Regions from separate parts of the Homo sapiens genome. Here regions 1 and 2 are each linked to region 3. Evidence: promoter capture Hi-C in human tissues and cell types (Jung and others, 2019). All regions are on one chromosome and are shown on one strand. Each heading gives the region's core, a stretch centred on a gene start or on the middle of the fragment in contact. The rest is flanking DNA. Distances are from core to core; before and after follow the strand shown.

The links. The method cuts DNA at HindIII sites, captures the fragments that hold promoters and counts their contacts. A contact is called where the count stands out against the background at its distance.
Region 1: a fragment that was not itself captured here is called in contact with the fragment with the promoter of OLIG1 in region 3 in 1 of the 25 tissues and cell types used here (lymphoblastoid cells).
Region 2: a fragment that was not itself captured here is called in contact with the fragment with the promoter of OLIG1 in region 3 in 2 of the 25 tissues and cell types used here (dorsolateral prefrontal cortex and heart right ventricle).

What each region holds. Positions count from the first base shown.
Region 1 is chr21:32,601,215-32,604,112 of GRCh38, reverse strand. CFAP298-TCP10L (CFAP298-TCP10L readthrough) reads left to right here. Exons shown (of 12, transcript NR_146639.2): 5 at 821-952. It overlaps CFAP298 (cilia and flagella associated protein 298), which reads left to right. Exons shown (of 7, transcript NM_021254.4): 5 at 821-952; 6 at 1,746-1,841; 7 at 2,140-2,898. The coding sequence ends at 2,250. Among named protein-coding and RNA genes, the nearest start is that of CFAP298, 9.7 kb to the left of the region's middle. The HindIII fragment of the contact is 3,171 bases long and covers 1-2,875 here.
Region 2 is chr21:32,774,816-32,777,802 of GRCh38, reverse strand. All of the region lies in intron 1 of EPCIP-AS1 (EPCIP antisense RNA 1), which reads right to left. Among named protein-coding and RNA genes, the nearest start is that of EPCIP-AS1, 4.2 kb to the right of the region's middle. The HindIII fragment of the contact is 6,384 bases long and covers 1-2,987 here.
Region 3 is chr21:33,068,752-33,071,565 of GRCh38, reverse strand. It overlaps OLIG1 (oligodendrocyte transcription factor 1), which reads right to left and starts at 1,425. Exons shown (of 1, transcript NM_138983.3): 1 at 1-1,425. The coding sequence starts at 1,319. The coding sequence ends at 504. The HindIII fragment of the contact is 10,124 bases long and covers 1-2,814 here.

The DNA of each region.
Region 1 (2,898 bases), core at 41-2,540, 470 kb after region 3:
TGAGTGGGTACTCTGGAGGTTGAGTTCCTGGCCCCCAAAGCCCTTAAGATTTGATGCCCCTCTTCTGGATGTAGTGTTTTGCTCCCTACACAGCTTTCAGGTTTGCTATGCCCTGCTTCAGAGCAGAGTTCTGAATTCAGGAGCAGCCCCTGAGAGTGGGTACTCATGAGTGAGGGGTTTGGCCCCACACACAGGAGGCAGTGGACGCAGTTTGTGAGGCCGCTCATCAGGAGTGACTGCAAACATTTCCACTGTCTTTGGCTGCTAGGAAGCCAGCTACCTAATTTCTTCCTATTTCTACCCAAATGCGTCAGTCCCTTTGCATGGAAATTTGTGTTTCTAGTCTTACCTGTTGCTTCATGTTATTTTCTGACCCTCATGTTCCATTTTCCTTGGGTTTTCTCACTTCTTATCCTATTGGACAATATTCTTTGTCTAAGCCATGTTAAATAAATGAAATATGCAGAAGTAAACAGGCAGCCCCTTTATACCTCGATTTAAACACCCAGCACGATGCCAGTGCCCTTCCCTGGCAGTGGCCTACAGATCTGTCTAAGACGAACTATATGGATCAAGGTGCAAATGAGATAGGATCTCCCTGTTGTCCAGAGGAGGAAGTTAACTGAGTCAGGGCATGAGTGGAAACTTAACAGGGAAGGTACTAAAGTCAGCAAGGACTTAGAGTGAGGTGCGGGAGTCAGGCCTCCCATGGTGAGCACGGGGAGAAATCTGTCCCCTGCCCCCTGCTGGGAGGGGCTCAGCTGGGCTCTGCCCCCTGGGTGGGAACACACAGTCAAGCCATTCTTACGACTGGCCCCAGGCAGGGCTCAACGTCATTAAAGAGGCAGAGGCGCAGCTGTGGTGGGCAGCCAAGGAGCTGAGAAGAACGAAGAAGCTTTCAGACTACGTGGGGAAGAATGAAAAAACCAAAATTATCGCCAAGATTCAGCAAGTAAGTACTTTTTGCTTTAATGTGTCAGTAGTTTTTGTTATTTCCCTTCAAACTGATAAAAATGTACAGTGAATCCGAAAGATTTAAACTACTGGTACAAATATTTTAATCTTATTGGCTCGGGTTTAAACTAAAAATATCCTCTTCCTGCACACCAACAAAAACTGGAAGAAAATATGGATTGAGTACCAATATCTAGAGTTTGTTTTAATATGTGGGGGAGAGGAAATATACTATGTTAATTTCAAGCGTAAAAATAGGGCTGCAAGTAAACAGATATGTTCCTTGAAATGTAAAATTTCGCCCGTCACTGATTTCAGGCTTTTTCAAACTGCTGATGCTGTGTACAGGAGGGGGAGGAGGAAAGGTTCGAGACCTTTGAAGGACATCGTGTAGCGCTGTAACCTGAGGGGCCGCCTTGGTTTTGTGGGTGCTCCTACGTCACTAGGCTGTGATTTTGGGGAAATGGGGCCCTCCACCTTATGTAGATCCAGAGTCCGTGGCTCTGAGCATCCTCCCTTTCCCACTGGACCTGCCTGCAGTGTCTGCCTTGGGAATGGTCAAGACAGAGATGGTATCGTGCAGCCTCTGGTCTCCACACAGTGAGAGTCCAGGGCTCAGGGCTGCTCAAGACCAAGGCTTCCCTTGATGCTTCACTTCGGGTGATCAGACATGGGGGACCTGTTTATCTTTAGTAGCCGGCAAAGGCAATCGTAAAACATTTGTTGTAACTTCAGGATTGTCACTCTAAGAACACCTTAATCCACAATTTGCTCTGCTCTCCTCTTTGCAGAGGGGACAGGGAGCTCCAGCCCGAGAGCCTATTATTAGCAGTGAGGAGCAGAAGCAGCTGATGCTGTACTATCACAGAAGACAAGAGGAGCTCAAGGTAGCAGGGGACAGATGGGCTTTCTGCAGTGCTGGCGCCCACACATAGCCTGTGTGCCTTACCTGGGGCTGCTGGGGAGCAGTGAGCTCTGCAGAATGCCGGGGAGGGGTCTTTCTAGAGCTTCTGTCTGCAGGTCTGTCGGGGTCCTGCCAGGTGTCCCCTGGTGTTAGACATGGCAGTATCCTGCTCCTAGAGGGCAGGGAGAGGGGGAGGTCAGTCATGGACTCTTTCTTCAGTCTCTTTATGTGCAAAACACTTTCCTGAAATGCCTGCCTGAATAAAACATACTTATTTCCAGAGATTGGAAGAAAATGATGATGATGCCTATTTAAACTCACCATGGGCGGATAACACTGCTTTGAAAAGACATTTTCATGGAGTGAAAGACATAAAGTGGAGACCAAGATGAAGTTCACCAGCTGATGACACTTCCAAAGAGATTAGCTCACCTTTCTCCTAGGCAATTATAATTTAAAAAAAAAAAAAAGGCCACTTACTGCCCTCTGTAAAAGATGTTAACATTTCTAGTTTTCTTTTAGTGTGAATTTTTAAAATAGCAGTTATTCAAGGTTTTAGAACTTAATAAATACCTAGTCAGAAGAAAATGTGTAAATCGTTTTTGTTTCAGGACTATTTAGTATGTCATGGTTTTCTTTGATAAAATACTAAACTTTTGGCCGGGCGCGGTGGCTCACGCCTGTAATCCCAGCACTTTGGGAGGCCGAGGCAGGCAGATCACGAGGTCAGGAGATCAAGACCATCCAGGCTAACACGGTGAAACCCCGTCTCTACTAAAAATACAAAAAATTAGCCGGGCATGGTGGCAGGCGCCTGTAGTCCCAGCTACTCGGGAGGCTGAGGCAGGAGAATGGCGTGAACCCGGGAGGTGGAGCTTACAGTGAGCCAAGATCACTGCCACTGCACTCTATCCTGGGCAACAGAGCGAAACTCTTGTCTCAAAAAAAAAAAAAAAAAAAAAAAAAGCTACACTTTTTTTTCTTCCTGATTGTTTTATATTCTCATGATAACTGGTTTATTGGAGGAAAGCTGATGACTG
Region 2 (2,987 bases), core at 304-2,803, 290 kb after region 3:
AGGGTGAGGCAGGCGGATGACCTGAGGTCAGGAGTTCGAGACCAGCTTGGCCAAATGGTGAAAGCTCGTCTCTACTAAAAATTCCAAAAATAGTCATGTGTGGTGGCACGTGCCTGTAATCCCAGCTCCTCAGGAGGCTGAGGCACAAGAATCGCTTGAACTTGGAGGCAGAGATTGCACCACTGCACTCTAGCCTGGGCAACAGAGCTACACTCTGTTTCAAAAAAAAAAAAAAAAAAAGATTGCAATGGAGCTGAAAAATTCCTATCATCTAGTGACATCATAGCAATCATAATACTGTAGCACAATACATTACTCATGTGTGTGGTGATGCTGGTATTAAGAAACCTCTGTTTCAGTGGTATAAAAGTATAGCACATACAATTACATATACCACATAAAACTCCATAATGATAATAAATGACTATGTTACTGGTTTATGTATTTGCTATACCAGTAGTCCCCAACCTTTTTGACACCAGGGACTGGTTTCATAGAAGACAATTTTTCCATGAACTAGGGGGTGGAGGATGGTTTGAGGATGATTCAAATGCATTACATTTACTGTGTACTTTATTTCTATTACAATTACATTGTAATATATAATGAAATAATTATACAATTCACCATAATGTAGAATCAGTTGGAGCCCTCAGCTTGTTTTCCTGCAACCAGATGGTCCCATCTGGGGGTGATGGGAGACAGTGACAGGTCATCAGGCATTAGATTCTCATAAGGAGTGCACAAGCTAGATCCCTCATGTGCAGAGTTCACAATAGGGTTCGTGTTCCTGTAAGAATCCAATGCTGCTGCAGATCTGACAGGAGACAGAGCTCAGGTGGTAATGCGAGTGATGCAGAGTGGCTGCAAATACAGATGAAGCTTTGTTTGCTCACCCGCCGCTCACCTCCTCTTGTGCAGCTCGGTTCCTAACAGGCCACTGACTGGTACCAGTCTGTGGCCTGGAGGTTGGGGACCCCTGCTTTATCTTATTTCTCGCATATTTAGTGAGGCCTCATCAGTTGTTAAGGCCCAGCTATTTATCTTCCCCCCAAATGTATATATTGAAACACTAATCCCCAGTGTGATAGCAGAGGAGGTAGAGATGCTGGAATGTGACTAGGTCACAAAGGTGGAGCCCTTATGAATGGGATTAGTGCCCTGGTAAGAAGCTGAAGAAACCACAGTTGTCTCCCTTCCACCATGTGAGGACTCAGCTAGAAGGTACCATCTATGAACCAGGAAGCAGACCCTCACCGGAACACAAATCTGCCAGTGCCTTAACCTTGGATTTCCCAGCATCCAGAGCTGTGAGAAATAAATTTGTTGTTTATAAGTCACCCAATTAATGGTATTTTGTTGTAGCAGCCCAAATGGACTAAGACATCAGCTAATGTATATAGAATATTTTTTACATATTTATTGGCTTTGTGGCTTCTAACATTTTAAAAATAAACTTAAAAAAAGAGAGAGAACAATGTCTACCTTTGGCCACTTGCCTCCTGCAGGGGTGGGAGGTGGTTGGGGACGCCTATACTATACTTTTTACTGTTATTTTAGAGCGCACTCTTTTTACTTACAAAAAAAAAAGTTAAGTATATAAGAGCCTCAGGCAGGTCCTTCAGGAGGTATTCCAGAAAAAGATATTGTTTTTATAGGACATGATAGCTCCATGTTTGTTATTTTTCCTGAAGACCTTCCAGTGGGACAAGATGTGGAAGTGGAAGACAGTGACACTGATAATCCTGACCTTGCGTAGGCCTAGGCTGATGTGTGTGTTTGTGTCTTAGCTTTAAAGTTTAAAAAGTAAAACAAAATAATTAAAATGGTAAAAATAGAAGATATTTTTGTGCAGCTGTAAATGTGTATTTTTTTAAGCAAAGTGTTATGCCGGGCACGATGGCTCACGCCTGTAATCCCAATACTTTGGGAGGCTGAGGCAGGTGGACGACCTGAGGTCGGGAGTTTGCGACTGCCTTGACCAACATGGAGAAACCTTGTCTTTACTAAAAATACAAAATTAGTTGGGCGTGGTGGTGCATGCCTGTAATCCCGGCTACTCAGGAGGCTGAGGCAGGAGAACTTCTTGAACCCTGGATGCAGAGGTTGCGGTGAGCTGAGGTTGCACTACTGCACTCCAGCCTGGGCAACAAGAGCAAAACTCTGTCTCAAAAAAAAAAAAAAAAAAGTCAAGAAGTTTTAAAAAATGTCTGGGCACGTTGGCTCATGCCTGCAATCCCAGAACTTTGGGAGGCCGAGGTGGGCAGATTACTTGAGGTCAGGAGTTCAAGACCAGCCTGGCCAACACAGGAGCTTGTGGGGTGTGCGGATCATCTCTACTAAAAATACAAACATTAACTGGGCATGGTGGTGCACGCTTATAATCCCAGCTACTTGGGAAGCTGAGGTGGGAGGATTGCTTGAACCTGGGAGGCAGAGGTTGCAGTGAGCTGAGATCACGCCACTGCACTCCAGCCTGGGGATAGAGTGAGACTCTGTCTCATTGCTTGAACCTGGGAGGTGGAGGTTGCAGTGAGCTGAGATCGCGCCACTGCACTCCAGACTGGGTGACAGAGTGAGACTCCATCTCAAAAAACAAAAACAAAACAAAACAATAACAACAAAAAAGTTTTAAAAAATAAGAAAGCTTATAAAGTAAAAAAGTTATAGTAAGCTATTTATTATTGAAGAAAGAAATATGTTTAAACATTTAGTGTAGCCTAAGTGTACAGTTGTTTATAAAATCTACAGCAGTGTACAGTAATAACCTAGGCCTTCATATTCACTTACCACTCACTCACTGACTCACCCAGAGCAACCTCCAGTCCTGTAAGCTCCATTCCTGGTAAGTGTCCTATACAGGTGCACCATTTTTAAAGCTTTTATGCTGTATTTTTACTGTATCTTTTCTATGTTTAGATACAGATACCATTGTGTTACAAGTGCTACAGTATTCAGTACAGTAACATGCCGTATAGGTTTGTAGC
Region 3 (2,814 bases), core at 176-2,675:
GGGCGCCCGTGGCCTCTGGCGGAGGAGAAGGAAAAGAACCACCCCTCCGCCCCCGCCACTGCTCGAGCGCAGCCCCTAGTACTGGGAGCCGGCGTGCTCCGCTCCGGGGAGGTAGCGCTCGGGGATGGCCTCTCGCTGCACCCGGGGCGCGCCAACCACGGCAAGGCGCCCTAAGTTCTACATCGGCCCCGCGAAGCGCGCAACTCCAGGGACAAGGAGAGAGATGTGCTGGGTGAGAGCGAGCACTTTCTGCCTAAAGCCGCTGGAACCGACCCAGAACCCCAAACTGCCCCGAGGCGCCATCGAACATCCGCTCTGGTCACTTTAACGTCCCAGGGGTGGGGGCGGGGAAGGGGGTGCCCGACAGTCCCTTCCTCTGGACTGGAAGGTTCGAAATGCTTTCCTTGCTCGGCCTCGCTCTCCCAGACGCAGGGAGCAGGGGCGCGGAGAAGCTGAGCGAAGGGAGGCCGGGCCGAGGTCGCGCCCCAGGCCCAGGCCCGCCCTCACTTGGAGAATTGCGCCTGCACGGCGGCCAGGCCCAGGCTGGCCGGGACCAGGTGCGGGAACTTGCACACGGCGCAGGTGCAGAGGCCGGGGCCGCCTGCGCCGCCGCCGGGGAGAGCGAACTGGCCGCACGGCGGCTCGTCCAGCGCCAGCGACAGGTACTTGGCGGGGCGCAGCGCGTCGGGGGGTCCTACGGCGCCGGGCGCCAGCAGCACGGAGCCGGGCGCGGCGGCGAGCAGGGGCAGCCCGGCCAGCAGCAGGCGCGGCGCGGCGGGCCCGGCGCCCTCGCCCAGCGCGCGGCGCAGCTCCTGCAGCGAGCTGCCCAGCAGTAGGATGTAGTTGCGGGCGAGCAGCAGCGTGGCTATCTTGGAGAGCTTGCGGCCGGGCGCGCCCTGGCAGTGCGCCGCTGAGTAGGGCAGGATGACCTCGCGCAGGGCGTCCATGGCCAGGTTCAGGTCCTGCATGCGCTTCCGCTCGCGGCTGTTGATCTTGCGCCGCAGCTGCTGCTGCTGCTCCTCCTTGGCGTCCGGCCGGGCGCTGCCGCCCGGGTGCGCGCCTGACCCGGGCCCGGGGCCTGGAGGCTCGGCCGGCGCCTCCGGCTTCTCGCGCGCAGCCTTGGGGAGGAGGGGGGCCGTCGTGGAGGAGGAGGAAGTGGAGGAGGTGGAGGAGGTGGAGGAGGAGGAGGAGGAGGGCGGCTGCCTGTAGCCCACCAGCTCGTAGAGGGAGGCCCCGAGCTGCAAGTCTCCGGGCCGCTGTGGCCGCAGCATGGTCCCGGGGACCGCGTTCACGCGCGCCTGGGAAACCGCATAGTACATCTGGGAGGCGGTGGGGGCGGCCGAGGACGCCCTTCAGGAACGCCCTGGGGTGGGCCGGTCGGCAGGCCGCCCCTCCCCGCGGACCTGCGCGCGGGGAAACGATGGTGGGGCCCTGGCCCGCGCCCTACCCCTTTAAACCCGGCTTGGGAACCTGCGGGGCAGCGGGTGGCGGGGCGCAGCCAATGGAGGCGCGAGGCCGGGCGCAGCCGCGTGTTCATTGGCTGCTTGTGCCGGGGCCGCGCGGAGGTGCGGCTGGCACCGCTTTAGGAGGTTATTGTGAGCGCCTGTGCCAGCCGCGCGGGACAGGCCCCCTGAGCGGAGTAAGGGCGCCTTTTCAAGGCAAGCGGGGCTGTTGAAGGAGGACTGGTCGCACTGGTCAGGCTGCAACTCACGTGCCTTCCTCCAGCAACTGTCTACTCAAAAACAACCTCCCTCATATTTTTTTTTAACTGTGATCACATATTCATAACATAAAATTTACCGTCTTATGTTTAGAGTACTGTTCAGTAATGTTATATGCATTAGTGTGCACATTAAATTGATTTAAATTAAATTCACATTGTTGTGCAACCCATCTCCAGAACTCTTTTCAACTTGCAACCCTGAAGCTCCACCCATTAAACAACTCCCCACTCCCCCCGACCCAAGTTCCTGGAATTCACTCTTCTGTTCTGTCTCTATGAATTTGTTCTACTCTAGGTCCCTCATATAAGTAGAATCATACAGCACTTGTCTTTTAGTGACTGGCTTCTTTCACTTAGCATATTGTCGTCAAGGTTTATCCATGTTGTAGCATGTATCAAAGTTTCTTCCTTTTCAAGGCTGAATAATATTCCAGTATATGGATATACCACATTTGGTTTATCCATTCATTCGTTGATGGACATTTGGGGTGCTTTTGGTTGTTGCGAATTATGCTGCTATGAACATGAGTGTATCATGTTTTTTTTTTCTTAAAATACATAATTTCCTGCCAGGTTCAGGTCGCTAAATTTCTGGACTAAATGACAAGTAGCATTAGGATATTTCCTCCCTGCTGCTCCCAACCTCCTTCCCCATCCCTCTGATTGAAAGGTCTTTAGGGACAAAGGAGCCTTTGGGTCGGGTTTCTATCCTCCCCGAAAGGGATGGTCTATCAGCAACTTGACATTTGCTTAAGCAAAAGTCACTCAGAAATTGGCCTCTTATTAGAAACAAAACAAAACACCCACATAGTCCTATCGGTTGAGGGTGGGAATGAATCATTTTATTTGCCAAATAGAATAGCATTACTTGGTGTCTATGGACATTTTCTGCCCCCAGCACCAGTGCATGCTACTATAACTTGTCAATGTCCTGGGGAAGAGGGCATCTTGGTGGCTGTGCTTGCTGGTTTCAGGGCTGCTTTGTTCTGGTTTTCTTCCACCAATATTTGCCACATGGGTTCACTCTGATCTTTGCTTCTGACCCCCAGCTCTGCCTGTAGCATCCTGCCTATGCCTCAGGTTCAGCTCCA